5 separate regions of the Homo sapiens genome follow, and all the other regions are linked to region 2. Evidence: promoter capture Hi-C in 16 types of primary human blood cells and fetal thymus (Javierre and others, 2016). All regions are on one chromosome and are shown on one strand. Each heading gives the region's core, a stretch centred on a gene start or on the middle of the fragment in contact. The rest is flanking DNA. Distances are from core to core; before and after follow the strand shown.

The links. The method cuts DNA at HindIII sites, captures the fragments that hold promoters and counts their contacts. A CHiCAGO score of 5 or more calls a contact.
Region 1: a contact is called between a fragment that was not itself captured here and the fragment with the promoter of SLAMF7 in region 2, in 8 of 17 cell types (neutrophils, naive CD4 T cells, naive B cells and 5 more). The highest score is 8.3, in neutrophils.
Region 3: a contact is called between a fragment that was not itself captured here and the fragment with the promoter of SLAMF7 in region 2, in 1 of 17 cell types (total CD8 T cells). The highest score is 5.3, in total CD8 T cells.
Region 4: a fragment that was not itself captured here is called in contact with the fragment with the promoter of SLAMF7 in region 2 in 2 of 17 cell types (total B cells and fetal thymus); the score reaches 6.6 in total B cells.
Region 5: a contact is called between a fragment that was not itself captured here and the fragment with the promoter of SLAMF7 in region 2, in 12 of 17 cell types (total B cells, non-activated CD4 T cells, fetal thymus and 9 more). The highest score is 10.0, in total B cells.

Annotation. Positions count from the first base shown.
Region 1 is chr1:160,977,200-160,981,741 of GRCh38, reverse strand. No RefSeq gene overlaps it. Among named protein-coding and RNA genes, the nearest start is that of ITLN2, 25 kb to the right of the region's middle. RefSeq lists silencers at 2,977-3,177, 2,949-3,243. The HindIII fragment of the contact is 7,479 bases long and covers 1-4,542 here.
Region 2 is chr1:160,735,852-160,740,496 of GRCh38, reverse strand. SLAMF7 (SLAM family member 7) reads right to left here and starts at 1,250. Exons shown (of 7, transcript NM_021181.5): 1 at 1,141-1,250. The coding sequence starts at 1,195. LOC124904440 (a long non-coding RNA gene) reads left to right here and starts at 1,338. Exons shown (of 2, transcript XR_007066687.1): 1 at 1,338-1,414. The HindIII fragment of the contact is 11,353 bases long and covers 1-4,645 here.
Region 3 is chr1:160,519,266-160,523,535 of GRCh38, reverse strand. SLAMF6 (SLAM family member 6) reads left to right here and starts at 281. Exons shown (of 8, transcript NM_001184714.2): 1 at 281-392. The coding sequence starts at 344. RefSeq lists an enhancer at 447-496. The HindIII fragment of the contact is 1,709 bases long and covers 653-2,361 here.
Region 4 is chr1:160,909,598-160,914,269 of GRCh38, reverse strand. No RefSeq gene overlaps it. Among named protein-coding and RNA genes, the nearest start is that of ITLN1, 27 kb to the right of the region's middle. RefSeq lists enhancers at 219-873, 874-1,528 and a silencer at 2,497-2,791. The HindIII fragment of the contact is 1,024 bases long and covers 1,730-2,753 here.
Region 5 is chr1:160,929,790-160,932,489 of GRCh38, reverse strand. LOC124904441 (a long non-coding RNA gene) reads left to right here. Exons shown (of 2, transcript XR_007066689.1): 2 at 313-844. It overlaps LOC101928372 (a long non-coding RNA gene), which reads right to left and starts at 25. Exons shown (of 6, transcript NR_110695.1): 1 at 1-25. The HindIII fragment of the contact is 1,228 bases long and covers 654-1,881 here.

The DNA.
Region 1 (4,542 bases), core at 299-2,798, 240 kb before region 2:
CTGAAAAGCCTGGGAGAGGCCAGCGCAAGGTATTTACGGGGAAGCTGACTTAATTTACATTGCAAAGAGCCGAGGGCTGGGGACCCGCCCTGGGAACTAGGGTGCGCAACTGGATTCTGTGGGTTAGGGGAGCGGGATTGGAGAAAATGAGGGAGAAGAGAAAGGGGATTATAAAAAGTATTACTGGCTGGGCGCGGTGGCTCACGCCTGTAATCCTAGCACTTTGGGAGGCCGAGGCGGGGGGATCACGAGGTCAGGGGATCGAGACCATCCTGGCTACCACAGTGAAACCCCGTCTCTACTAAAAATACAAAAAAATTAACCGGGCAAGGTGGCGGGCGGCTGAGGCAGGAGAATGGCGTGAACCTGGGAGGCGGAGTTTGCAGTGAGCCGAGATCGGCCACTGCACTCCAGCCTGGGCGACAATGTGAGACTCCGTCTCAAAAAAATAAGAAAAATAAAAAAAAGTATTACTGAGATTAAGGATTTATCCCCTTTCAATGTCTTTTGGGAGGCAGTGTAAAGAGGGCTTTTTCCCTCTAATTATTTTGTGCTTATTTGGAACATGATTTTCCCAATAGGATCCCTCCAGGAGACTTTTACACTTTAATGTCAAAAATTGTAACAAATATTATCACTAACACTGGTGTTTTGGGCTGAATTTTGTCCCCTCAAACCCTTAGGTTCAAGTTCTAACCTTCAGTACCTTTGAGAGTGTGACTGTATTTGGACATGGGGCCTTTAAAGAGGTTATTAAGGTTAAATGAGGTCATTAGGGTGGGCTCGAATCCAATGTGACTGGTGTTCTTATAAGAGATTAAGACACTAATACAGACCAAGGGTCGACTGCATGAGGAATAGCAAGAGGATGGCCATCTGCAGGCCAAGGAGAGAGGCCTCAGAAGAAACCAAACATGCTGACACCTTGATCTTGGATTTCTAGCCCCCAGAACTGTGAGACAATAAATTTCTGTTATTTAAGCCACTCAGTCTGTGGTTGTGTTACGAACTGATACAGCTGTACTTAAGGATGATGCCTATTGAATAGACTTTTAATTTTTTTTTTTAATTTCTCAAAAAAATAGAGACAGGGTCTCACTATGTTGTCCAGGCCAGTCTCAAATTCCTGGGCTCAAACAATCCTGCCTCAGCCTCCCAAAATGCTGGGATTACAGGAGTAATCCCACTGCCTGGCTGAGTATGCTTTTATTTATTTTAATTAATTAATTGATTTAGAGACATAATTTTGCCCTGTCTCCCAGGCGAGAGTGCAGTGGCCCCATCTCCGCTTACTGCAACCCCTGACTCCTGGGTTCAAGCAATTCTCCTGCCTCAGCCTCCCAAATAGCTGGGATTACAGGCATGGGCCACCACGCCAGGCTAATTTTTGTATTTTTAGTAGAGATGGTTTTCACTATGTTGGCCAGGCTGATCTTGAACTCCTGACCTCAGGTGATCTGCCTGTCTTGGCCTCCCAAAGTGCTGGGATTATAGGCCTGAGCCATGGCGCCCAGTCTGGTTGAGTATGCTTTTAATTTGTATAGGAAATATAATCTAAGCATTACTCCATATTTCCATTAATACTTGACAGTTTTACTCATAACTCAGTCTTACTTTACCGACAGTCTCGTGCCCCTTTGGATTTCTGAATCTTGTCTTGGAGTCAGAACCTACTGGGTCTCATAATTTTCTTTTCTTTTTTCTTTTATTTATTTTTTTGAGACGGAGTCTCGCTCTGTTGCCCACGCTGGAGTGCAGCAGTGCGATCTCAGCTCACTGCAACCTCAGCCTCCTGGGTTCAAGCAATTCTCCTGCCTCAGCCTCCTGAGTAGCTGGGACTACAGGTGACCACCACCAAGCCTGGCTAATTTTTTTTTTTTTTTTTTTGGTATTTTTAGTAGAGACGGGGTTTTACCATGTTGGCCAGGCTGGTCTTGAACTCCTGGGCTCAAGCAATTCACCCGCCTCATCCTCCCAAAGTTTTGGGATTATAGGCGTGAGCCAACACACCCAGCCTGGGGTCGTACTTTTCTCAAGGACTATAAAGTTCTTTTTTTTTTGAGAGACAGGATCTTGCTTTGTTACCCAGGCTGCAGTTCAGTGGTGCAATCATGGCTTGCTGCACCTTCAGGGCTCAGATGATCCTCCCACCTCATCCTCCTGAGTAGCTGGTAGTACAGGCACATGCTACCACAGCTGGCTAATTTTTTAGTTTTTTGTAGAGATGGAGTCTCGCTAGCTATGTTGCCTAGGCTGGTCTGGAATTTTTCGGCTCAAGCAATCCTCCCACCTTGGCCTCCCAAAGTGCTGAAATCATAGGCATGAGCCACTGTCTGGCCTAAAGTTCTTTTTTTCCAAGTCAAAATCTGCAGCTCACATTTCTACTAGGTTGGTCTCATGCAGTTGAGAGTCATGTAGTAGTTCTGCTTTAGGAATCATTCTTACAAAGGAAGATTTCCTTTATTGAGATATAGATTTCACATACAAAAGGGTAACTTCTATGTTTGCAGTTCTCAAAATAATCAGCTCAAAATAATCCTTATGCCCAAAAGGCATGTTTTGGGTGGCATACTCAGGTGTCCTACAGTCATATTTTGGGGTGGCATATTTTCATCTCCTCCATGAGATTTTCATCTCCTCCTGAGAATAGAGGTTTATATAGTCAGAAATGGCATGCTGAAATGTCAACTAAGTGTAGGGAAGGAAAAATGCCTTCTTCACCCCTCTAGATTCTGTAGCTGGTCTAAGAATTAAACTAATATAAGATTAACAGAAGAAAAACAATCTTATTTATTTATTTTTTTTTCGAGACAGCATCTCTCTCTTTGCCCAGGCTGGAGTGCAGTGGTGGGATCTCGGCTCACTGCAGCCTCACCCCCCGGGGCTCAAGTGATCCTCCCACCTCAGCCTCCCAGGGAGCTGGGACTACAGGTATGTGCCACGATGCCTGGCTAAGTTTTGTATTTTTGTAGAGATGGAGTTTTGGCATGTTGCCCAGACTGGCCTTGAACTTCTGAGATGAAGCGATCCTCCCTCCTCCTCAGCCTCCCAAAGTGCCGAGATTACAGGCGTGAACAAATACGCCTGTGAGCCATGGCACCCAGCCTAAAAAAACAATCGTAGGGGAGGAAAAATAATCTTCTCTCTTAGTTACATATATATAAGTGGGAGTCTGACAAAAATATGAAAGGCCAGGCGCGGCGGCTCACACCTGTGTAATCCCAGCACTTTGGGAGGCTGAGGCGGGTGGATCACTTGAGGTCAGGAGTTCGAGATCAGCCTGGCCAATATGGGGAAACCCCATCTCTACTAAAAATAATAGAAAAAAATTAGCTGAGCATGGCAGCACATGCCTGTAGTCCCCAGCTACTCTGGAGGCTGAGGCAGGAGAATTGCTTCAACCTGGGAGGTGGAGGTTGCAGTGAGCCAAGATCTTGCCACTGTACTCCAGCCTGGGCAACAGAGCAAGGCTCCTTCTCAAAAAAAATAAAATAAAATAAAAAGAGATTCAAAGTAGCCAGATGATTGAGGTTTACATGCCATCCTGAGCTACAGAAAGATATACGGGCTTGGGGCTTCTATAGGGTGGTGGAGGCAAATTATAGGAGGGTGAGGAGAGGAAATGTATGGTGAGTAAAAGTTGCTTGATTATGCAGATAGAAGTCTCTCAGGTGATTAAAGTTGTGTCAGATTAGCTCTCTTCCTGATACAGATACTTTTATTAATGGACATTTCTTTTCTTGCCCAGGGTCTAGTCTTGAACTCCTGGCCTTAAGCGATCCTCCTGCCTTGGCCTCCCAAAGTGCTGGGATTACAGGCTTGAGCCACCACAGCTGGCTGGAAATTTTCTTTTCAAATGTAAATTTCTCTTACTTAAGGGGAAACTTACACTTTTTTTTTTTTTTTGAGACAAAGTCTTCCTCTTGTCCCCCAGGCTGGAGTGCAATGGTGCGATCTCGGCTCACTGCAACCCCCGCCTCCTGGATTCAAGCTATTCTCCTGTCTCACCCTCCTGAGTAGCTGGGATTACAGGTGCCTGCCACCATGCTTGGCTAAGTTTTGTATTTTTAGTAGAGACGAGGTTTCACCATGTTGGCCAGGCTGGTCTTGAGCTCCTGACCTCGGTGATCCGCCCACCTCAGCCTCCCAAAGTGCAGGGATTACAGGCATGAGCCACCGCGCCCAGCCTTTTTTTTTTTTTTTTTTTCAGATGGAGTCGCCCTGTCACCAGGCTAGAGTGCAGTGGTGTGATCTCAGCTCTCTGCAACCTCTGCTCCCAGGCTGAAGTGATTCTTCTACCTCAGCCTCTCGAGTAGCTGGAACCACAGGTACACACTGCCATGCCTAACTATTTTTTAATATATTTTTTATTAGAGATGAGTTTCACTATGTTGCCCAGGCTGGTCTCAAACTCTGGACCTGAAGCGATCTGCCTGCCTTGGCCTCCCAAAGTGCTGGGGTTACAGGTGTGAGCCACCGCACTCGCCCCAACTATTTGTATTTCTATTAGGTTAAAATTTACAAGTTAATATGCAATTTCAG
Region 2 (4,645 bases), core at 1-2,500:
GGTACACTACACAGGCTGCCTCTGGAGGAGGGCAGAGGGGGACCTGCATGGCAGTTTTTCATACTTGTGCTCTTTCGCTGACTGATTTCAGATGGACACCTGTAGCTTTCAAAGTCTCTATAATTTTCCCCAACCCCTCCACCTTATCTCCCTCAAGTTCTATTTCTGCTCATCATTTCCGTTCAGGGAGTTTTTTTTTTGTTTTTTTTTTTTAAAGTGAGGGCCTATTCCAGAACCACCTGGTTAGACCCAGGTACCTCTCAAAAATACAAACTTCTGATGAATTCAAAGTGGGTAAGAGTCTGCTGATGCTGACCACTTAGCGATGCAGGGGAAAATATTGGGGGCACCAGCTGCCTGCGTGGTCTTGGGCAGATCACTCCAGGCAGGCTCAGATACACATAATGAAGCAGTTATGTGAAGTCCTTATAGGGGGACCTCATGGTAGTACTCCATGAGATTGATGACAGAAGAGATATTTCTCACTTATAGGGCTCCTGATCCTTTCTGAGAGCCCTTAGGATAGAAAAATCTTCAAAGACTAGAATACCAGTGACAGGTGGAGAACTGTCCTCTGTCCTCCATGGGATTAAACATAAAGTGCCTATGGTATGAGTTGGTTCTCTAAGTAGAGACTGATTACATTGCTTGAGTAAGGAAAGAAAATTCAAGTGATTCTTTCCATTTATATTACTGTTATGCATAACCAATTTTATAAATACATTTATAAGTAAATAAATACATACCTGTATAGTATCATCTTGTTCTTAAAGTTGCCCTCAAAAGGAGAGAAGGCTAGAAGATAAAGTTTCTGAGGCCCAGGAAAACTTTAACATTCCTTATCTAACTCATGGCAGAACCTGGATTAGAAAAATGGTCTCTGATACCCAGCACCACTTCTTTCAGCTCCTTCATCCCTGGGACAGTCAACAGGGGAGTCAGTTCCCAGAGCCATTTTTCCCCCTCTCTCTAGTCTCTTCCTGACCTGAGAATCAGAGATCAGAGATTGATAAAAAGCAAATGTTAGATGAGAACACAGAGCCTCCCGAGTTGAGCCAGAGGCCCAGAGTGGAACAAGAAACCTGGAACTATTCAGGATGGGGTAGACAGGAGAGTGGAAGAGAATCCGGCCGGACTCACCTGTGAGCTGCCAAAGGATATAGATGAGGGTGAGGCATGTTGGGGAACCAGCCATATTGCTCTCTGGAAGTCAGCCACTGAAATGAAGCCACTTCCCTCTTAGGTATTACTCAGACCTCTTCCCCAGCTGATATTTAAAGAAGCAGGAGGGGTCACGCCGCAGACATGTGAGATTGAGTAATTGCTAAATTATTTTCAGAGTGAATAGAGCATTTTACCTTGCCACCAGCAATCTATGAGAGATCTATTTGCTCCCCATCTTCATCAGCATTTGGTATATTCCCATTTTATATTTTAGCTGTTTTAATAGGTGCTGTAGTGATACCTCATTGTGGCTTTAATTTGCATTTCCCTAAAGCCTAATAATGTTGAACATCTTTTCATGTGCTTATTTGCCATCTATATATCCATATCCTCCTTGGTGAAATGTCTATTTATGTCTTTTGTCCATTTTATAATCAGATTCTTTATTTTTTTTACTGTTGAGCTTTGACAATTCCTTATATGTTCCAAGTATAAGAGTCATTTGTCAGATATGTGGTTTACAAATATTTTCTCTTGGTCTGTAGCCTGTCTTTTCATCTTCTTAACGGGGTCTTTGGCAGAGCAAAAATTTTAATTTTGATGAAATTCAACTTATCAGTTTTTTTTCTACCCACACTAGGGTCCAAAGGTTTTCTCCTGAAAGTTTTATAGTTTTATGTTTTACATTTAAATGTATGATCCTGTTTTAATGTAAGGTGTGAAGTTTAGGTTGAGATTCACCTAAATATATTGTCTATATTCATTGAGAACCATATCAGGTAATATGGTTGACAGTTTTTTTTTGCTTTCGACACTTGAAAAGTGTCATGACACTCCTCCCCTCCATGGTTTCCAGTGAGAAATCAGCCATCATTTAAATTGTTTTCCCTATAGGTAATGTGTCATTTTTCTCTAGCTGTTTTAAAAGTTTTTTGTTTGCCTTTGGTTTTCAGAAGTATGATTACAATGTGCGTGTTTTTTTTTCTTCTGCCTGTGGGTGTTCAATTGTTCTACTACCATGTGATGGAAAAGATGATCTTTCCTACATTGAATTACTTTTGTATCTTTATCAAAAATCAGCACTTATACTTGTGTGGGTATATTCTGGAGCTATCTATTCTATTTAACTGACTTACATAATGTAATTATTTATATATCAGAGCTTAAGTTTGCCATGTTATTATTTTCTCTTTGTTCTTCTGGGCTTTTGTTTGTTTATTTTGTTCCTCTGTTTCACTTTCCTGGCCATCCTGTGTGTTACTGGAATATTTTTTATAATTCCATTTTGATTTATCTATAATGTATCTTTTTGAAGAGTTTTTTTACTGGTTGCTGTACATATTGCATTTTACATACATAACTTTTGATCTACCTATCAGTGTTGACATTTTACCAGTTGAACTAGGTATAGAAAACTTACCTATATTAGGTTTCTTTATTAGTCTATCTTTATACTTGTCTTAAATATATTGTCTATATTCATTGAGAACCATATCGGTAAGATTATAAGTTTTGCTTCAATTGTTGAACATAATTCAGAACACTCAAGAGGAGAAGGACAATCCATTACATTTACCCATATTTTAACTCTTTTCATTGTTATTTCTTTATTTCTAATGTTTCAAGTTTCCTTCTTTTTATTTTTTTTTGGACGAAGTCTTGCTCTGTCATACAGGCTGGAGTGTAGTGGCATGATCTTGGCTCACTGCAATCTCCGCCTCCTGGGTTCAAGCGATTCTCCTGCCTCAGCCTCCTGAGTAGCTGGGACTACAGGCTCATGCCACCATGCCCACCTACTTTTTGTACTTTTAGTAGAGATCAGGTTTCGCCATGTTGGCCAGGCTAGTCTCAAACTCCTGACCTCAGGTGATCCACCAACTTTGGCCTCCCAAAGTGCTGGGATTACAGGTATGAGCCACCACACCCAGCCTTCAAGTTTTCTTCTTTAATCATTTCTTTCTGTTTCAAGATATTCTTTAGGAATTCTTTTATGATAAGCCTGCTGATAACAAATTATCTTAGTTTTCCTTCACCTGAGAATGTCTTGATTTAACCCTCATTCCTGGGTATAAAATTCTAGGTTGACAGTTTTTTTTCTTTCAACACTTGAAAAGTGTCATGACACTCCTCCCCTCCATGGTTTCCAGTGAGAAATCAGCCGTCATTTAAGTTGTTTTCCCTGTAGGTAATGTGTCATTTTTCTCTAGCTGTTTTAAAAGTTTTTTGTTTGTCTTTAGTTTTCAGAAGTGTGATTATAATGTGTCTTGGTGTGAATTTCTTTGGGTTTCTCTTATTTGTGATTCATTGAGTCTCTTGAATCTGTAGGTTTTTACCTTTTGCTAAGTTTGGGGAAATTTCATTATTTTTTGAATACTTTTTTTTCAGCCTCACATTCTCGCTTCTCTCCTAAAATTCTGATGACATGAATGTTATAAATCTTTTGTTTTTCTCCCACAGGGCTCTGAGGCTCCATTTTTTTTTTTTTTTTTTTTTTTTTTTGGCCTATTTTCACTCTGTTTTCAGATTGGGTATTTTCTATTGTTTATCTTCAAGTACACTGATTCTTTCCTTTTTCATCTCCATTTTGCAATTTTTTATTTTTTTATTTTTTCTGAGACAGAGTCTCACTCTGTTGCCCAGGCTGGAGTGCACGATCTCAGCTCACTGCAACCTCTGTCTCCTGGGCTCAAGCGATTCTCCTGCCTCAGCCTCCTAAGTAGCTGGGATTACTGGCACCCGCCACCACACCTGGCTAATTTTTATATTTTGGTAGCGACAGAGTTTTGCCATGTTGGCCAGGCTGGTCTTGTACTCTTGACCTCAGGTGATCCGCCCACCTTGGCCTCCCCAAGTGCTGGGATTGCCAGTATGAGCCACTGGCCCTGGCCTCCATTTTGCTATTAAGCTCATTAAACTCATTCAATTAGTTTTACCTTTCAGTCATTGTATTATTCAATTCTAAAATTTCCCTTTGGTTCTTCTTTATATCTTCTACTCTTTTTTTAAAGACTTTCTAGTTTTTTTGTTTATTTGTTTTAAATGTGTTCATAGCTGCTAGTTGAAGCATTTTTACTATGGTTTCTTTAAAATCCTTGTAAGATAATTCTAACGTCTGTGTTGTCTTGGTTTTGGTGTCTGTTGATTGCCTTTTGTTCATTCAAGTCAAGATTGTCCTGGTTCTTGTTATGATGAGTGATTTTTGACACAGTGATGATAAGGTAGGGGACCACATTACTGCTGAGCAGTGGTAAAAATCCAGACCCTCCATTTGGCCTTTTCTGACACCACCCAAAGCAAGAATTGGGAGGAGTGCCTCATTGCTTCAGGGAGGGAGTGCATGTTCAGTCTTCCTACTTAGCCTCTTCTGATGCCACCCCAGTGGGGAGTGGGGAGTGGGGAGGGATGATTCCTTACTGCCAAGGGGTGGGGTGGGGGGTTTAAATATAGGTTTTCCACTTGGCCTTTGCTGTTGGCGGGGGGG
Region 3 (4,270 bases), core at 258-2,757, 220 kb after region 2:
TTTATATTTTGATTTTGTATCTTTTCACCTTGCTGAACTCATTTATTTGTTCTAGTAGATTTTAGGAAATTCCTTACAGACTTTTACATATAAGTTTATGAAAGATGCAATAAAGGACTTTATCTTCTTTTCCAAAAAAAAAAAAAATTTGTGCACTTAGCTCAGAAAAAAGTAAACAAAAAATTAACACAGTTACAAATTAGGATTTTTAGTGCAGGGGAAGAAGTTGTCACCACGCCTCTAAGAGGAAGGGGAAGTCTCAGAAGTATTTTCAGTTTATGACAGAAGGGCAAAAACATTGACTGCCTCAAGGTCTCAAGCACCAGTCTTCACCGCGGAAAGCATGTTGTGGCTGTTCCAATCGCTCCTGTTTGTCTTCTGCTTTGGCCCAGGTAAATGTCAATCCAGATCGGTGTAGTCACTGAGTGACTCCCTGGTTTTGTGCAGCTTGCTCAACCTAAATCGTCTGTATACAGTTGTCTGGCTCTCTGCCAAGGGATTGGGGCGGGAAAGGGGACGCTGGCAGTGTTACCTGATATACTACTACCTCCTCTCAACTTTGGATGCGATAAGCCTGAGATGGTTGTCGGTGAACAATTTCAATTGTGTCTGCATGTAAGAAAGTTATTTGCTGGGGCAGAGGAAATAAGCTTTTGAAGACAAGACTGTTTGTGGTTTATGACCAGCATCTTGTGTTATAAAGAGTACCAAGACCAAGAAAATGGGCCCTCATACCAATGTATCTACTATCGTACTGTGAACCTCAGGGAGGTTACTTATCCTTCCTGAACCTCACTATCCTCATCTAAATTATTAAAAACCTATTATTCAGTTGAGCCAAATTTTCTGGGCCCAACCAAACACACCAAAAATAACCCTCTCACCTTTTGCTCATTGCAAAAAAAAAGGTTTCCATCTCTCCCCTCCTTTAGTGCAAATTAGGGCTAGCTAGTCCAGCAATGCATTATATATGGCAGTGAGAAAAGAATGAACTGATCCAGCTGGCTTCTTGTTTCCTGCTGTCCATTATATGGAGAAGATGAAGATTCATATCACATTTGGGGAACTACAAGTGGTCCACGGGAGACAAAGTGTAGCATTCAGGCAGAGATAGTCCAGGAGACCAATGGAAATCTAGTCCAGAGCTAGCCCAGGGTAGCAGATAAAAGTAGGAAGCATTCACTGAGCACTTATTGTATTTCAAGTATTGTGCCAGGTGCTGTACACACGTTATGAGTCTCATGAGAATTCTATGAATTTATACTATTAATATCTCCATTTTAAAATGAAGAACTGAGGTGAACTTAATTTAAATAATTTGCCCAAATTTCATTAGCCAGCATGCGACAAGCTCTTGTAATAGTTATGAGAAAAAATAACAGTTCAACAAGTGTGGCAGCAGCATAAGAGAAAGAAGAGACTGAAGCAAGAGATCCCATCAATATGGAGTTAAGTAGAGTAATTGGTAATTGGAATGAGAAAGGAATAAATATTCATTGAGCACCTACTGAATGCTTGGCACTCTTCTAGTTTGCATGAATACATCATGAACAAAGCAAGCAAAAATTCCTGCCCTCATGGAGTTAACATTTTAGCAGGAGACAAACTGTAAAAAAAGATAAACAAGTAAAATAGTGTATTGGGTAGGAAGAAATAAATCAAGAAGGAAAGGGAGAGATGAAATATGGTAAAGACGGCAGTGAAATTTCAGACAGGATAGCCAAAGAAAGTGACAAAATTGGAAGGTGGAGAGCAGCCACAGGAGGAAGGTGAGTTCAATTTTGGACCTACTGATTTTAGGATGTCAGTGTGCTATACATGAGGAAGTTACGTGGAGGATCCTGGGAACTTAGGACTAGGGGTAGAGCTGAGGCTAGAGACTTAAAAATCAATGGCATAGAGATATGTTAAGCTGAGGAGAAAACTGGAATGAGAACAGAACTTTGGGAAATATATATAAAATGCAGAAAGAGAGAGAATTCTTTCCTTCATTCAAGAGCCACTTCCTGATCTAGGAGCAGAATCTTGAGTTTTTGCTTCATTTTTACCACCCTGCAAAATTATTTCCACCTCTAGAATAAAATATTCTGAATGTCCTTGTGTTAAAACTCCTCTTCTTCTCCCTATTTCCATGAATACTTCTTATAATGACCCTATGAAATATACAGTGCTCCAATCTCCACTTCACAGATGGGGAAAGAAGGCACAGAACACTAAAGTAACTTGCTCACTGCCCCACATTTATGGGGGAAATGGGTATAGAAAGAGAAACACATTTGAATGAGTTTACAGGAGGCAGATGCAGGTGTTCTGAGACCCAGGAGGAGAGAAGTGGCTGCTAGAATTGGAAATCAGGAAGCTTGGCTCCGGAGTCTGTGCTCATAGCCACTTCACTATGCTACTTAGCTTACACACAGTCATACATTCACACAAATGTGTACATAATTAGAAAATGTGAGGCCAGCAAAAAAAATAAGCAGGGCACCTTCATAGAGAAAAACACGGGGACCTGCTTTGGACGGAGTGATGAAGAAAGGACTTCCTGGAAAAGTAACATCTCATCTGATATTTAAAGGGTGTGAAAAGTTAAACAGGAAAAGTCAAATGAAGAAGATTTTAGGGCAGAGGGAATCATGTGTGAAAAGCCGTGATGCAGGAAAGAGCCTGGAGTGATTTAGGAAGGGAAAGAAGACCACTGTTGCAAAAATGTGGGGCAAATGAAATTAATCTTTGAAACAACCATGAAAAACAATGACTCATGCCAGCCTACATTCTTTGAAGTGGGTTGGGCACTATCCTGACTCCTTTTAGAAAATTTAGTGGAAAAGACAAACCATATTGAAAAATAATCCCATTTCCTTTAACTCAAGCCCTGGGTGGCAAAACTAACAGAACAAAACAATAATTGTAAATAAAATCAAGCATCATGACTTCCTAGAGAAAATAAATCTCGTTTGTTTCTTCATTTTGATTTTTATAGATGGAAAGTTGGAAATTTGTCAAACTTAAATGTGCATATAAATTACTTGGGGGAATCTTATTAAAATGCTGATTGGGGAATAGGGACTGAGATTCTGCATTTCTAAGAGGCTCCCAGGTGACACCAATGCTGCCTGTCCATGGACCACACTAAGCAGCAAGGTTCTAAATTCCAATGGACTTCAGTCATACTGGGATTGTAGGGAGGAAGAAATAGAAACTAACTTTGAGTGTGTTTGCAGGAAGCAGATATAGGTATTCTGAGGTCCAGGAGAGAGCAGTGGTTGGAAATGTAAGTAAAGCAAACACATGAGGGCTGATTCTGAGGTTGAGTCAAAATGTGCAATGCTCTTCTGTGAAGAGATTGTGACCTGATGGCCCCCGAGCAGTGTTATCTACTTTTTACCAACCGTCCACATCTTTCAAATGTTTATTGTGCTCAACAGGCAGAGAGCTGTTTTATATTTTTTCATTATCCTCAGACACGTGTTTTTCCACCTCTCAGAATCTGCAATCTCCAATGTGACCTCCAGGTGTTCATGCCTCTGTTTTTGGTCCCTTAACCCAGATTCAGCTTTGATTGTTTCTCTGTTCACACTCAGACATTTTTTATTAAGGTGAAATTCTTGTAACAGGATGTAATAATTTTAAAGTGACATTTTGTACATTTTGTGAAACCACCACTTCTATTATTCTAAAACATTTTCATCACCCCAAAAGGAAACCCTGTACCCACTAAGCAGTCATTTCCCATTCTCCCCTCCCCCCCAGCCCCTGGCAAATACCGATCTGCTTTCTGTCTCTGTGGGTTTACCTATTCTGGATAATTTCATATAAATGAAATCACACAATATATGACCTTTCGTGTCTGACTTCTTTCACTTAGCATCATGTTTTCCAGGTTCACCTATGCTGAACCATGTATCAGTACTTCATTCCTTTTTGGCTGAATAGTATTTTGTATTCTGTATATACTACATTTTATTTATCCATTTATCTATCAGTGGACACCTGGGTTGTTTTTGCCTTTTGGCTCTTGCGAATAGTGCTGCTATGTGTACAAGTATTTGACTACCTGTTTTTATCTGGGTATATACCTAGGAATGGATTTGTCAGATCATATAATTCTATGCTTAACTTTTTGGGAAATTGCCAAACTGTTTTCCACAATGGCTGTACCATTTTACATTTCCACTAGCTGTGTACAAGAGTTATAATTTCTCCACATCCTCATCAACACTTGTTTTTTTCCTTTTTAAAAAGATTATTATCACCATCCTAATAGGTGTGA
Region 4 (4,672 bases), core at 992-3,491, 170 kb before region 2:
TTTCCTTTTCCATCAGTAAATCTTCCACCACGTAGCTGCGCTGGAGTCTCTGAACCTACTCTGGCTTGGGAGGCTGCCAGTTTCGGGAACTGTTCATTGCTCAATTAAACTTTAAAAAATTTAATTCAGGCTGGGCACAGTGGCTCATGATGGGGCGGGTTGCCTCTCCACACCTGTGGGTGTTTCTCATTAGGTGGAACGAGGGACTTTGAAAAGAAAGAGACACAGAGACAAAGTATAGAGAAAGGAAAAAGGGGGCCTAGGGGACTGGTATTCAGCATTACGGAGGATTCTGCCAGCTTCTGAGTTCCTTTAGTATTTATTCATCATTCTTGGGTGTTTCTCGGAGAGGGGGATGTGGCAGGGTCATAGGATAATAGTGGAGAGCAGGTCAGCAGATAAACACGTGAACAAGGTCTCTGCATCATAGAGAAGGTAAAGAATTAAGTGCTGTGCTTTAGATATGTATACACATAAACATCTCAATGCCTTAAAGAGCAGTATTGCTGCCTGCTGTCCTACCTCCAGCCTTAAGGTGGTTTTCCTTTATCTTAGTAGATGGAATATACAATCGGGTTTTACACCAAGACATTCCATTGCCTAGGGACAGGCAGGAGACAGATGCCTTCCTCTTGTCTCAACTGCAAAGAGGCGTTCTTTCCTCTTTTACTAATCCTCCTCAGCACAGACCCTTTACGGGTGTCAGGCAGGGGGACGGTCAGGTCTTTCCTTTCTTACGAGGCCATATTTCAGACTATCACATGGGGAGAAACTTTGGACAATACCTGGCTTTCCTAGGCAGAGGCCCAAGCGGCCTTCCCCTTCCAGCCTTCCGCAGTGTTTGTGTCCTTGGGTACTTGAGATTAGGGAGTGGTGATGACTCTTTAGGAGCATGCTGCCTTCAAGCATCTGTTTAACAAAGCACATCTTGCACAGCCCTTAATCCATTTAACCTTGAGTTGACAAAGCACATGTTTCAGGGAGCACAGGGTTGGGGGTAAGGTTACAGATTAACAGCATTTTAAGGCAGAAGAATTTTTCTTAGTACAGAACAAAATGGAGTCTCTTATGTCTACTTCTTTCTACACAGACACAGTAACAATCTGATCTCTCTTTCTTTTCTCCACAGGCTCACACCTGTAATCCCAGCACTTTGGGAGGCTGAAGCGGGTGGATCACCTGAGGTCAGGTGTTCAAGACCAGCCTGGCCAACATGGTGAATCCCCATCTCTACTAAAAAATATACAAAAATTAACTGGGTGTGGTGGTGCGCACCTGTAATCTCAGCTGCTTGGGAGACTGAGGCAGGAGAATCACTTGAACCTGGGAGGTGCAGGTTGCAGAGAGCTGATATCGCATCACTGCACTTCAGCCTGGGCAGCAGAGTGAGACTCCATCTCAAAAAAAGTTTTTTTAAATTTTATTAAAAAAATTGAGATGGGGTCTTGCTATTTTGCCCAGGTTGACTCAAACTCATGGGCTCAAGCAATCTTCCCACCTCAGCCTTCAGAGTAGCTGGGATTACAGTTCTGAGCCACCATACCTGGCTCAGCAGTGGGCTTTTGAAGGAAGAGTTGTGCTTTTTCTTTCATTAACCATGCTGGACTGCATGACTGGAGGATGTATTCCTGGTTTCAGGAGTCCTCTGTGAACCTCTGTTTAGCCTTGGTTCCCCTGCGAGGCTTCCTGGACTCCAAGGTTAGCTCCTAAGAAGGGCCTTCGCAAAGCTTCACAAAGAGTTACAGGCCTACATTTATTTTGATTGCTCTAATTTTCTAGACATTTTCCTTACTCTTTATTTTGAAAATGTTCAAATCTACAGTAAAGGGTATGGAAGGCAGAATAATGGCCCCCCAAAGATGTCCACATTCTAATTTCTGAAACCTGTGGATATGTTATCTTAGATGGCAAAAGGGACTTTGCAGATGTGATTAAGTTAAGGATTTTGAGATGAGAGGAGTGTCCTGGATTATCCAGGTGGGCTCAATGTAATCACATGAGTCCTTTAAAGGCAGGCAAAGGGTCAAACAAGGGTACAGAAGGCAGGCAGAGGGTACAGAAAAGGAAATGCGATGATCAGAGCAGAGGTTAGAGTGATGTGTTTTGAAGATAGAGGAAGGAGCCATGAGCTAAGGAGTGTGGGTGGTGTTTGAATCTGGAAAAGAAAACATTCTTCCCTGAGCCCTGAGAAGAAACAGCTCTGCCAACACCTCTCAGCTCCATAAAGCTCATTTTGAATTTCTGACTTCTAGAACTTTAAAACAACAAATTTGTGTTCTAAGACACCACGTTTGTGGTAATTTGTTAAGAGCAGAATAAGAAACAAGGTCTGCAGCTTGTAGCTGCAGCGAACACCGAGAATGAAGTATTCAGACAATTCCAGCTGAGCGGGACAAGTAGCAGCTCTTCTGAGAGAGTGCTGCTTTAAGATGGGTAAGCCAAGTATTTATTGAGAGGGCTTCTTAAACTACAATTTAGACAAACGAGACATTGGCTAGGTAACGATTTGCGGTCTGGTCACGAGGCACATATAGCCTTATTTGTTACATCTAAAAGCACTCAGACCACATTCTTAGGAGGCTGTTCTCAGCCCTCCTTATCACACAACTCCTTATTACACAGTTCCTTATCACACATTCCGTTCCTTGCCCTGTTTTCAGGGTCAAGGAATTTCAGTCTCATGCGCAAACAACATACACACAGTGCCTCAGTATTTTCCCATGCCTCGACCTCAAATGCCTTGCACATAAGCTTGAATATGTTGCTGTGCACCCCCCACATCTCCCCCTTCTTTAATTCTTAGAGCATGCTGGTTATCTAATGCAAGGTAAGCTTCTATCGTTCTTTCCTGATCATAGATGCGTGGGCGGGGGGCAGCACAGAGCCATTTGCAGATGCCTAGCAAACAGATACAAAAAAGAATAGGTATAGTGGCCATCACCCAAATGTGTATGTTTAATCCAGACAACTAAGTGTTCAGGTTCAACCATTGAAAACCTTCTTGTAATTGCTGAAGGATATTTGTTTGTAATTGCTGTGATCATTCTTTTTTTTTTTTTTTTTTTTTTGAGACAGAGTCTCGCTCTGTTGCCCAGGCCGGAGTGCAGTGGCACGACCTTGGCTCACTGCAACCTCTGCCTCCTGGGTTCACGCCATTCTCCTGCCTCAGCCTCCCGAGTAGCTGGGACTACAGGCGCCCGCGACCCCGCCCGGCTAATTTTTTGTATTTTTCGTGGAGATGAGGTTTTACCGTGTTAGCCAGGATGGTCTAGATCTCCTGACCTCGTGATCTGCCCGCCTTGGCCTCCCAAAGTGCTAGGATTACAAGCATGAGCCACCGCGCCTGGCCTGCTGTGATCATTCTTTAAGTTGTTTCTTTAACTCGCACTCAAGAGTAGAAATTTGAGAGGATAAGTGGTCCTGATAAGCCCCTTGTAGGTGCGCCTTCACTCTCTCCCAAGTATATTGGGAGCTATTATATGGCAGAGGTGTGACACAGATAGAATTATATTGCCAATCACAATGTAAATTTTGACAAGTAATGAATACCTGCTGCTGATCCCCCAGCCATTCAACAGCGGCTTTAAGAGCCTCCAGGTGAGACAAAATAGTTTTATCAATATTTACTTGTTCTTGAAATCCATGGGTTACTTTGTATACCATGTGGTTTGCTACCAAGGCTGTGTGAATAGATTGTGTCAGAGAAACAGCTGTAGTAGCGGCAGTTGCTAGTATTGAGAAGTGAAGCCAGCTGGGCTTCTGGGTCCTGTTGGGACTTGGAGAACTTTTCTGTCTAGATAAAGGATTGTAAACACACCAATCAGTGCTCTGTGTCTAGCTAAAGGTTTGTAAATGTACCAATCAGCACTCTGTAAAATGGACCAATCAGCAGGAGGTGGGTGGGGCCAAATAAGGGAATAAACGCTGGCCACTAGAGCCAGCAGCCGCAACCCCATTGGGTCCTGTTCCACTGTGTGGAAGTGTTCTTTCCCTCTTCACAATACATATTGCTGCTGCTCACTCTTTGGGTCCACACTATCTTTATTAGCTGTAACACTCACCACGAGGGTCTGCGGCTTCACTCCTGAGGTCAGTGAGACCACGAACCCACCGGGAGGAACAGACAACTCGATGTGCCACCTTTAAGAGCTGTAACACTCACTGTGAAGGTCTGCAGCTTCACTCCTGAAGTTAGCCAGACCACGAACCCAACGGAAGGAAGAAACTCCGAACACATCTGAACATCTGAAGGGATAAACTCTGGACACACCATCTTTAAGAACTGTAGCACTCACTACGAGGGTCTGTGGCTTCACTCCTGAAGTCAGCGAGACCAAGAACCCACCAGAAGGAAACAGTTCCGGACACAGTATAATAATAGCTGAGACAAAAAAGGCAATTAAAGTGGCCAAAAATCTTTTTTTTGAGTATGAGATAGTGCTTTTCTAAATAACCGTAGGGTTAAATTTACAGGGAGCCACAATTCTACATGCCATTTTAGGATCATGCCATAGGTTATATTTAACTATGTAACATTTTGATGAGACAAGCATGTAGCGTACCAACTACTGGAAGAGAAAGTAATACTATATAAGGATTGATTCTGTTCTATGTTAGGAATACCCTGCCCAGACAAAATTATCTAGGGGTGTGTAGTACAAATCAGGACTGT
Region 5 (2,700 bases), core at 18-2,517, 190 kb before region 2:
TTGTGCCCCACTTAAAATTGGCCTAGATGAAAGCAGCAGGCTCACATGTTATATGTGTTGCTTTCAAAATCCAGAGACCAACCCTGACCCAGTATTGTTTTTCACCTTGGAAAGATCATTCTGACATAGAAAATTCACTGATATGGCATATTCTGCATATAGCCTGCCAATTCTTTGGTAATTCCCCCCACCCCACCAAATTTGGGCGGGCTTAGTGACTAAGTTTTCATGAAAAGAATATGGCAGAAGTGTGACCTCTGAGACTGCATCCTAAAAAATGATACAGCTTCTTCCTGGCTTTCTCTTTCTTAGGACTTGTGCCTTCGGATCCTGATTTATTAAGTGAGAAGTCCACTATCCTGAAGCTGCTATGCTGGAGAGACCATGTGAAAAGATCATATAGAAGTAGAAAGATGCCCAAGAAGCCATATATGCTTCTTTCTGTAGCTGTTTCAGTCTGCCCACCCAGGGATCGGACATGTTAGAGAAAGAGTCTTAAAGATTATCCCAACCCCAGCCACCATGTGACTGCAACCTCATGAAAACCCCACACCAGAACAGTGGTATCAGCTCAAACTTTGCAAGGGCTAGGAGACTGAGGGCAGCTGACCAGATTTATGTGATTGAGCCTAATAAACTGGCCTGAGTAAGCTTCCCTGGTTGACAATATTCTGCGAGTATTATCACACACTGGATGTCAGGAAATTAACACTGTCCACAACTCATGGAAAGGACAACTGGGAGTTCTGTGTTTAGAGCTTTCCTGAACTCTGCCCTATGTACCCCTTCCCTTGGCTGATTTTAACCTGTATTCTTAGCTGCAATAAACCGTAACTTTCCATGAGCACTGTGAGTTTGTCTTGTGAATTATTAAACTCACGGGTGGTCTTGGGGTCCCCCCAAGCTGACAATTAATGTCAGAGAGGAGGAGGATATTGGGGGACCCCAACCTTGCAATCGGTGTCAGAAGTGAGGGTGGTCTTGTGGGCTGCTCCTCTAACAATGTATCCAGCATAACCTTGATATGAAAATCTCACAAGAGTATCACAAGAAAAGATAATTATAAGCCAACCACCCTCATGACTGTATATGCAACAATTCTAAACAGGATATTAACAAACCTACATATGAATTTGAGAGGACATAAATGTTCAGATCATAGCATTGCTGAGCATTCTGTATGAATATAGACATAATTCAAGACCAAGACTGATGATTGCTATTGTGAGTTGAACTGTGTTCCCTAAAGTGGTATGTTAAAGTCCTAATCCAAGGTACCTGTGAATGTGACCTTATTTGGAAATGAGATTTTTGCAGATGCAACTATTTAAAATGCAGTTATAGTGGATTAGGGTGGGCCCTAATTCCAATATAACTAATATCCTTATAAGAAGAGAAGAGACACAGATGCAGAAACACACACAGATGGAAGGCAGCTGTATGAAGACGGAGGCAGAGAAGGGAGTTATGTGGCCACAAATCAATAAATACCAAGGATTGGCCAGGCATGGTGCCTCATACCTGTAATCCCAGTACTTTGGGAGGCTGAGGTGGGATGATTGCTTGAGCCCAGGAGTTTGAGACCAGCCTGGGCAAAAAATACAGTGAAACTCCATTTCTATCAAAACCAAAAGCAAACAAACAAAAAACCCAAGGATTGCTTTCTACCTGAAGCTGGATGAGGCAAGAGAAGATCCTCCTGCAGAGTCTTTGGACAGAGCACAGTCCTGCTGATGCCTTAATTTTGGACTTCTCACCTCTGAAATAGAGTAATTTCTTAAAAAGCCACCTAGGTTGTGACAATTTGTTATGGCAACCCTAGGAAACTGACACAATTGTGTCATTGTTTTTTTCTCTCTACTAGTTTTAAAATTGTAAGCTTTTTTTCTATCCTTTTAGTGGCTGCTCTAGAACTAACAGCAGGCTTCATGAATGTTTTCTAATCACAAATTTGTGTGTTTATTTCTTTTAAAAGCATTAATTGCGAGCCTATTATGTGCCAGAACATATTCTAGATGCTGGGGATATAGCAACAAGTCAGGTACACATTTCTGCCTTTCTGGAGATTGTACCCTAGTACCAGGAAATATACAATATGCTATAAAAATAAATAATAGAATGTCAAGTTTTTATTTATTTATTTATTTTTATTTTTTTAAACCAGGTCTCCTTATGTTGCCCAGCTGTTCTTGAACTCCTGGGCTCAAATGATCCCCCCGCTTCAGCCTCCCAAAGTGCTGGGATTACAGGCATGAGCCACCACACCCAGACTAGAATGTTAAGTTTGAAAAGTGCTATGGAGAAAAAGAAAGTTGAGTAGCGACATAGATATATTGGGGGTGGTGGTGGTTTACAACTTTAATAGATCTTTAAAGAAGACTTCAGTGAGAAGGTGACATTGAGGAAGGATCTGAAGAAGGTGAGGGATTGAGCCATAAAGTACCAGGCAGAGGGAATAGCAACTGCCAAGGTATTGAGATGGGAGTATCTTCACTGCGTTCAGGGAGCTGCAGGGAGATTTGGCTAGCAGAAGCTGCATAAGTATGGAGGAAAGCAGCAGGTCATGACAGCACAAAGGTAAGATGGGAGCAGATTGTGTAGGATATTGTGGGCCTTCTGGGCAAGACTAGAAGCCTTCAGAGAGGTCTGAGTAGGAGGGTAGCCTGATTTAACAGGATGACTTTGGCTGTGTTGAGGATA